3 separate regions of the Homo sapiens genome follow, and regions 2 and 3 are each linked to region 1. The links are contacts of gene promoters, found by promoter capture Hi-C in blood cells and fetal thymus (Javierre and others, 2016). All regions are on one chromosome and are shown on one strand. Each heading gives the region's core, a stretch centred on a gene start or on the middle of the fragment in contact. The rest is flanking DNA. Distances are from core to core; before and after follow the strand shown.

Region 1 (2,740 bases), core at 124-2,623:
ATCATAACACTGTCTTAATTACCATATAAGTCTTGATACCTGGTAGATATCAACCCTCATTATTCTTCGAGAGATCTTCAAGAGTTTATTGATATTTTTGGTCCCTTGCATTTTCATATAAATTTTAGAAAAAACTTACCATGTTACACACACACAGTCACACACTGGGCCTTCATATGTATTTATGTTGAATCTATAGGTCAGTTTGGAAATAGCTGACATTGTAACAATATTGAGTCTCACAACCCATGAACATAGTGTAACCATTTATTTAGGTCTTCGTTTTCTTTCAAAAAAAAAATTTTTTTTTTTTTTGAGACGGAGTCTTGCTCTGTTGCCCAGGCTGGAGTGCAGTGGCGCAATCTCGGCTCACTGCAACCTCCACCTCCCAGGTTCAAGCAATTCTCTGCCTCAGCTCCCAAGTAGCTGGGATTACAGGCACCCGCCACCACGCCTGGCTAATTTTTGTATGTATGTATGTATGTATGTATTTACTTATTTTACACGAAGTCCCCCTCTGTCGCCCAGGCTGGAATGCAGATGCGCGATCTCTGCTCACTGCAAGTGCAGTGGCGCAATCTCGGCTCATTGCAACCTCCGCCTCCCAGGTTCAAGCAATTCTCCTGCCTTGGCCTCCCCAGTAGCCGGGACTACAGGCACGCACCACCATGCCCGGCTAATTTTTTGTATTTTTAGTAGAGACGGGGTTTCACCATGCTGGTCAGGCTGGTCTTGAACTCCTGACCTCGTGATCCGCCTGCCTCGGCCTCCCAAAGTGCTGAGATTACAGGCTTGAGCCATGGCGCCCGGCCTCAAAAATGTTTTATAGTTCTCTTTGTAGGAAGGACAATCTTTAACTTATTCCTAGTTACTTGCTATCTCATGCACTATTATAAATAGTATCTCTTTAAAACTTCAATTTTATATCTGTTGCTAATCTATTGAAACACATTGATCTTTGAATATTGACTTTGTATCCAGCAACTCTTAAATTAATTTAGTAATTTTTTCTACTTTCTTTTGGATTTTTCTATGCACATAGCATCTATGAAAAATTAACTGTATTTCCTCTTCTTGAGAAATTCGAAGACTCTCAATAATCTGAATTTGACTAACGTGCAATTTTCGTTGTAAATTCAATAAAAAGTTGCTAGTGTATTCAATCTTTCCAACTCACAAGCTCCCACTCTCAGTTTACGCGGACCTGACTACTACCCGAACAACCCCCACCAGTCTGGAGGATTTTGAGCCTAGACACTCCTCCAGAGCAGGCTCCTGTCCCGGCTGCGGAAGTGCGCGCGCCCTCGGCACCTTAACAGTTCCGCCCCTCTCCCGGACCCAGCCAATCAGCGGCCGCCTCTTGCGCGCGCCCCACCGACCAAAATGGCGGCTGCCGTTGGTGCGGGGTGCGGTTTGTAGTGCTGTTGCCCTACTCATCCCTTTGCAAAATGTGAAAGAAGAAGCGGCTGGTGGAGGCGGGCCATAGGCAATGAGTCGGCGAAGGAAACATGATGACAGCCCTAGCCCGAAGAAAACGCCGCACAAAACAGTGGCGGCGGAGGAATGCGGCTCGGTGGTCGAGCCAGGGAGGAGGCGGCTGAGATCGGCCCGCGGTTCGTGGCCCTGCGGGGCTAGAGAGGGGCCTCCCGGGCCAGTGCGGCAGCGAGAGCAGCCTCCGACCGCCGCCCTGTGCAGTAAAAGTAACCCCGAGGGTGAGACGTCGGCAGCGCGGCCTGCCTTGGCTTCGGCGCCGCATCCCCACATCCCAGCTTGCAACAGGGAAATCTGGGGTGGGGGTGGAGTCTGGAGCGTGTATTCTGTCTCTGGGATTCACCCCTCGAGAGTCCAAAAATAATCCTATACCACTCCCCGATGGGCTTTTGTCCCCGAACTTCAGCACTACCCCGTTAGGTTTGACCATCCATTTGCCTCCGCCACAGGAATAGGTAATGTGGTTTACCTGTTTGCGGGAGGGCGGCTGCTTTCCAGGCTGCTCCTCCAGTCAGCAGCAGTGGTGGAGTGAGAAGAAACAGCTGATAGGCCCGCTAACCTCAGTTTTTGCCCGGAGAAGTTATTTCTCTTTAAACCCTTTTTTTCCCTGTGACCTGCTTTAGAGAAGAGTTCATAGGAAAAGTTAAAGTTTGTCTCAAAGCCTGGTAGATGTCTCACCTCATTGTGAATAAACCGGAAGTTCCTGTGTGTAACATCCCTCCAAATAAGATACTAAGGATCTCTTTCGTCTCGATTAGTTTTAGGTGTTACTTTTTAAAAGACTTCTAGTAAATCTTAGTTGGAACTGAAACTCATACAAAAGCCTTTATTCTGGAGCATGTTCTTGAAATAGTGCTTTTTTTTTTTTTTTTTTTTTTATACCTTACGTGTCTTTTTTCTTTTGGGAAAGAATCTCGCCCTGTCGCCCAGGCTGCAGTGCAGTAGCACAATCTCGGCTCACTGCAACCTCCGCCTCCCGGGTTCAAGCGATTCTCCTGCCTCAGCCTCCCAAGTAGCTGGGACTACAGGCGTGTGCCACCTCGCCCGGCTAATTTTTTGTATTTTTGGTAGAGACAGGGGTTTCACCGTGTTAGCCAGGATGGTCTCGATTTCCTGACCTCGTGATCCACCCGCCTCGGCCTCCCAAAGTGCTGGGATTACAGCCACCGCGCCCGGCCACCTTACATGTCTTTAATAATACTCCTATAAAGCAATTTGGGAATGAACAAAAATCTTTATAAAAATTTGA
Region 2 (2,740 bases), core at 76-2,575, 3.8 Mb before region 1:
ACACCTACTAATTCAGGACTAGACACATAAATTTGAGAGTTTTTGACATTAAAAGTAGCATTTGAAGTGATGCAACTTATGAATTAGCTCACTGAGGGATTTAGTATAGACAGAGAATACAGGCACCCCAATGTTAAGAGATCACAACTAAAAAAAATTTAGAAACTCCGCAGAACTGAGAACCAGTAACAAAAGAGGAAAACCAGGAAAGTATGTTGTCTGAGAGCCAAATGAATAAAGAGATACAAGGAGAGTCATTCAGGTATGATATTAATAAATGCTAAAAGTAAAGCATTACATTTCTTTCCAAAAATAGCAAATCCTCCAAACTGAAATAGAGAAAAATTGAAAGATATTACTTGGCATTCATTTATCAGTGACAGAGAAAAAACGGAAGTTCTAACAATGTTATCTAATAGAGATGTTTTATTCATTTTCATTACGTATATGCTGTGTATGCTACTCCCGAGCATCATATCTTCCTTTTAACATCCACAAGAAACAAGCTTTCAAAAAGCACAGCAATTCTCTTGGCAGCATTAATTTTAAAGAGAACCTCTTAAGTTGTTTTACCAGCTGAGACTGACTGACTAAACAACCAGTGTCTCCCCTTCAGTCGCCAGTCTTTCCTTAGAAATGCCTGTTTGGCATAACTTTAAGACTCAAGATGGTTTAAGGCGCATCCTGTTTCTTCCAAAAGGGAATGGACAAAACTCAACATTCACGGAGGGCTTAGAGCAAATTAGAACCGTATACTGTGACCTCCTGGAAGGGAGAGGCTCACCTCCTACAAAGTAAATGCTCAATAAATATTTTTGATATAACTCTGGAAGAGCTCCATTTGGGGTCGGGGGTGCACCTACTCCAGGGCACCACCCCCTCCAAAATAGCTGCATTCCCACAGCCCTCATACTCCGCTCAGAAAAGGGACCGGCGAGCTTGCAGGCATCCGCACAGCGGATAAAAGCAAAGCGGGACGGCGCACCAACCGCATTCCGGATCCTAAGGTTAAAAGAAAACCCCTTGCCCTCGGGCCAGGGCTCACCTGTCTCGGGAGTGGGGAAGAAGCGCGACTCCCGGCCGCTTTGGAGTAGGCGTCCCAGCAAAACTCTCGCCTCATCACCAGACACTACCCCGGGCAGAAGGTTCCTAGGCTAGGTCCTCGGACCCGAGAGGGAGCGACACGCTCGCTTGGTCTCTTGGGTCTCCAGGACGCCGCCGCCGCCGCCACAGTTTCCTCAGGTGCTACAAAGCAGCCAGGGTGTGCGTGCGCTCCCGCCTCGTCGCTTAGCAACCTGAGAAGCTGTCCGGTCGTCCCAACTTATCAATTCCCCCGCCCCTCCAGAGTGTCAATCGTTTTTTAAAAGATTTTGTTTCCGGGTCGATCCAGCTTTACGCAGCGGAAGGTCTCTTTACCTCCCACGTTTACCCTCATGGGAGGATGCAGTCTCAGTCACGCGCGTGGGGGTGATGTCGCTAAGGGGTGATTCTCCCCTCCCTAGAGTTACACACGCTATCTCTCCCGCCAATTGCCGGGCTCCATCAGGCAGGTCCTTTCCTCCTGAGCCCAAACCATCCGTTTGTTGTCGTCCTCCAATCACAGGGGCTCATCCTCAGGGACTACTTTGCAATCGGCGCAGAGCGCAGTGAGAAGAGCTTGAAAAAAACCTCTGGTATCGGGAAGTGTAGTTCAACACTTGAAGGAAATGCTTTGGAGATTGCGCCACAACCAGGGCAGCGTAAACTACAGTTCCCAGAGAGCGCCGCGTCGGGAGCGGAGCCTTTTCTCGCTAACACCGCTCGCCCTCTCCGAGTCAGTTCCGCGGTAGAGGTGACCTGACTCTCTGAGGCTCATTTTGCAGTTGTTGAAATTGTCCCCGCAGTTTTCAATCATGGTGAGTGTGGGCCCCGGGTTCCTGCCCACCTCTGGCCCTCGCGCCCTTGAGTGGGGTTTCTTGCACTTTAGGGACTTTTGGGAGGCAGCTGTGCAAGGCACTGTCCTTCGCGCCCTTTGGCAAGCTCGGACTCATCTTCTGGGGATTGCCGCAGTGACCCAGTAATGGGAAGGGATTGATTTCCACCTTGCGGGGTATGGGGCGCTCTTAGGAGGACTCTGGAGAAGTAGTTGTCCTGGGAGAGGAGCGATCTTAATCCTGCTGCATGACGGGAGGACAAAATGCGACGCTGCAGCTATTTTCCAAAGGACGTTACGGTGTTTGATAAGGACGATAAGGTTTGCGATGGGAGGGAAAGGTTGGGTCCTAACCCCTTTTTCTCCTCATTTGCCCACAGTGTTTATAACGGCTTTTGTCACAGGGACCTTGAAAGCAAAAAGCTGGAAAGGTAGTATTTACCAGGTGCTCCAGATTACGATCTGCGTTTGCAGCAGACGTGTTTCCGCCATATCTAATTTCTCAAAATGTTATTTGGAACCCGTTCATTGACCTTTTTTGTAATGCCAGGATATATTGAAGTGACAGCATCACTAACTAAATAACTACTGCAAATATTCTTTATTGAACTGTATATTGTGAATTCCAGAAGCACCTCTCTTAAATGTAACAGAGTAACCATTTTGTCATGGAAGACCTGGGTAACCTGCATCTCCATCGCTTGTCTCTGCTGAAAGAGAGGGGGAGGGGGAGAGTTGGTGAAGGAACTCTGGCGTAGGAATAATCTGCGTACTGCTTGAAGGTGACATTTGTCATCAAACTCAGAGAAATCGCTTCATACTATCAAT
Region 3 (2,740 bases), core at 136-2,635, 3.6 Mb before region 1:
CCTTTTGTTAGCTGGCCCACACAGGCCAATGCCTACTCCCTAACGCATCCTCACCCTCCCCCAACCAGATGTGATGAGGGGAGCAAGCGTCCCCTGAGAAGCGTCTGGGCTCCCTCGGGGCAGCTGCGGTGGGGAGCTCCGGCTCTATCCGCAGGGCTTTCTTTAGTCCCTAGTCAGCGGGAATATTTTTACTGATTGGAAAAATAACCAGTCGTGCTCAGGTGCTCTCCCTCACTGAGATATACTGGCGAGGCTTCCCTGGCCGCAACGCCGCCGTAAGTGCTGCTCCCACGCGCGGTATCCCCGCGTACTGCTCAGTGCCCAACTCCGACGGGCTCTCAAGTGCCGCAACGCCCCGCCCCTTGCCACCTCCACACGTCTCATTGGCCAGAGCCTGCGTCCGCCTCGGCTCCTGACTGGCGGCTGCGCCTGTCGGTCCGTGCGGCAGGGACATTTCCGCATTGAAGGGGCTGCTCCGAATGGAGGGGGAGGGGAGGTGTTTAGGAGAAAGTAGGGGCTGTGGGTGTCGGGAGCCGGCTGACGGGTGGACAAGGGGGGGTTAGCAGCTGGGCTGCGACCGTTAGGGAGGGGCTCAAGGTGTGCATGTGTGAGGGAAGAGAGAGAGAGAGAAGGGCGCCTCAGAGGTGACTTTCAGCCTGCGAGCCTTCTTCCCGGGGCGCCATAAACGCCCCCAATTTCCCAGCTGCTAAAGGAAGAGGAAGGTGGGTCTCGCTGGCGGCTTGAGGAGGGGCGGGGTTGGGCTTCCGGCGACCCCCTGGATGAGTGTGTTTCCCGCTCTCGCTGGCCCGCTGTGTGGTCTCGGAGGCGGAATTTGGGCTTCTGAGGAGCGCAGGGCAGGCGGGGCGAGAATATGTACGGGAAGGGTCGGTGCCCTCCCTTGGGACTCCCGCGCCGGTGCACGGGTCTGCCTCTAGCCGGTGACCCCTTAGTGTCCGCTGCGGGGGAGGGGCAGCGTAGCCTTCGGCCCCTACCGAGAAAAAGCTGCGGCCGGGTTTCACTGCTCGAGGCGGGAAGGCGGGGAGCTGAGGCCCCGACCGGTCGGCCAGCCAGAGCGTGGAATTGGTAGCGCCTCCTAGTCCCAGGATGTTTATGGCTGGTGAAAATGGTTGCACTGCCCCCGCTGGCCGGCCTCGCCCGCCTCCCCGACCCCTGCTTGGGCGGGAGCCGCTGTTAACCGGGGTTTTCGGGGGAGGCGTTTGGGGCCTGGACGGCGGCGCGGGGAGGGGGCAGCTAGGGGCGCGGCCTGCCAGTGCCTCCTGCAGTACAGCCCTGGAGGGCGTGGGGACTTGGGGGCGGTGAAATAGCCGCTGTAGGTCCGCCTCTTTCATTGAAGAAATTTAAGTTCGTGTGGTTTTACCTTTTCCGGGAGTCTCCAGCTGGCCCTCATTTGTGTCCGGAGCTCAGGAGTTCCCAAACCGACTCAGTCGCACCAAGTTTCCGTCTTTTGGAATTGGGGAAGGAGTTTCTTTCTTTCTTTTCTTTTTTCTTGAGCCAGTTTTAATCGCTTTGAATAAATACTCCCTTAAGTAGTTAAATATAGGAGGAGAAAGAATACATCGGTTGTTAAAGCAGGAGAGGAAGAGAGACCTGCCCTGTAGCGTGACTCCTCTAGAAAAAAAAAAAAAAAGCCGGAGTATTTTACTAAGCCCCTAAAATGTCGAGATTTGTACAAGGTAAGAAATGCTGCTGCTTATATCCCGAGTTGCTTCAGGCAAATTTGGGTACTGACAGTGGAGAGGTTGGTGGGTGGTTTGGAAGTGGAAATGTTCATTTGAGATAACATTTGCGAAACCCTTTTCGTTGAATTGTCATCTGAGCTGCCTTGAGCTGCTGGGTTGACGTTCCAGACGCGTATAATTTATGCTCCTGTACCCTGCTGGGTTTAGTTTTGCCTCCCTGAAATCAGGTTAGTAGTACCGTCGCTTTCCTGGATAGTGGCTGTAAGTGATAAAACAGGATTTTTGGCTGCTAATTAATCCTTGTTCTCTTTTCCTGGTCTGTGTCAAGGTACCTGTGCGTGCACGCAGACGGGAAGGGCTGGGGAAGCGGGAGGACTGAGAAAAGCCGGGTGGGTTTTGCCGGGACTGTTGGGGAAGCTTTAGTGTTCTCCGCTTCTACTTCGTTTGTGTGTACGTGGTTTGCGTCTCAGATTCACTTATTGCGAAACTGGGAGTAGCCCGAAGAAGCTGGAGGTCATTTCAGCTGGAGAAATGACTTTGCTGCATTGCTGTGTTTATTTTTTCCTTTTTTGAACTATGAAAAGATGATTAAGGTTCCTTTGAAGTTTGAAAACTGCTCTCTAAATTCCACATGTGTATTTAAAAAGGGTTAGGGAATGCCTCAACTGAGATTATCAGTAACGTGTATATGAATGCATGTGTGTACGGTGTACTCACTGAAATTGGTGCTGGCATAAACCTTTGACACCAGTTTGTAGCATGAGATTTGCCTTCTGGTATGCAAGTAAACTCTTTCCTTGTAGACTCCAGTGTGTGAAAGCTTCAGCCATCTTGATGAACACACAGCTAGTAAAGTTCACAAACACTTATTATGCTTCCTGATAAATGTAGGTGTACTTTTGGAAAAAAAAAGTTGTGTCAGTAATGGCCATCATTTGACCCTGGGAATAAAAATGCCCTACTGAGTTCTACATCGCTTTATTAACTCTTCTTTAAATTTTGTGTAGTAGATTAAAGTAAGAGAATTCGACTGCCTGTGT

Evidence for each region. The method cuts DNA at HindIII sites, captures the fragments that hold promoters and counts their contacts. A CHiCAGO score of 5 or more calls a contact.
Region 2: the fragment with the promoter of WDPCP here is called in contact with the fragment with the promoter of ETAA1 in region 1 in 1 of 17 cell types (monocytes); the score reaches 7.0 in monocytes.
Region 3: a contact is called between the fragment with the promoter of UGP2 here and the fragment with the promoter of ETAA1 in region 1, in 1 of 17 cell types (monocytes). The highest score is 5.5, in monocytes.

Annotation. Positions count from the first base shown.
Region 1 is chr2:67,395,960-67,398,699 of GRCh38, forward strand. It overlaps ETAA1 (ETAA1 activator of ATR kinase), which reads left to right and starts at 1,374. Exons shown (of 6, transcript NM_019002.4): 1 at 1,374-1,712. The coding sequence starts at 1,490. The HindIII fragment of the contact is 4,361 bases long and covers 1-2,740 here.
Region 2 is chr2:63,587,152-63,589,891 of GRCh38, forward strand. WDPCP (WD repeat containing planar cell polarity effector) reads right to left here and starts at 1,326. Exons shown (of 18, transcript NM_015910.7): 1 at 1,046-1,326. The coding sequence starts at 1,120. It overlaps MDH1 (malate dehydrogenase 1), which reads left to right and starts at 1,812. Exons shown (of 9, transcript NM_005917.4): 1 at 1,812-1,895. The coding sequence starts at 1,893. RefSeq lists enhancers at 491-1,011, 1,523-1,842. The HindIII fragment of the contact is 5,833 bases long and covers 505-2,740 here.
Region 3 is chr2:63,840,511-63,843,250 of GRCh38, forward strand. It overlaps UGP2 (UDP-glucose pyrophosphorylase 2), which reads left to right and starts at 1,386. Exons shown (of 10, transcript NM_006759.4): 1 at 1,386-1,694. The coding sequence starts at 1,676. It also overlaps a transcript of WDPCP not described here. RefSeq lists enhancers at 393-572, 1,443-1,492 and a silencer at 1,033-1,342. The HindIII fragment of the contact is 3,639 bases long and covers 1-2,115 here.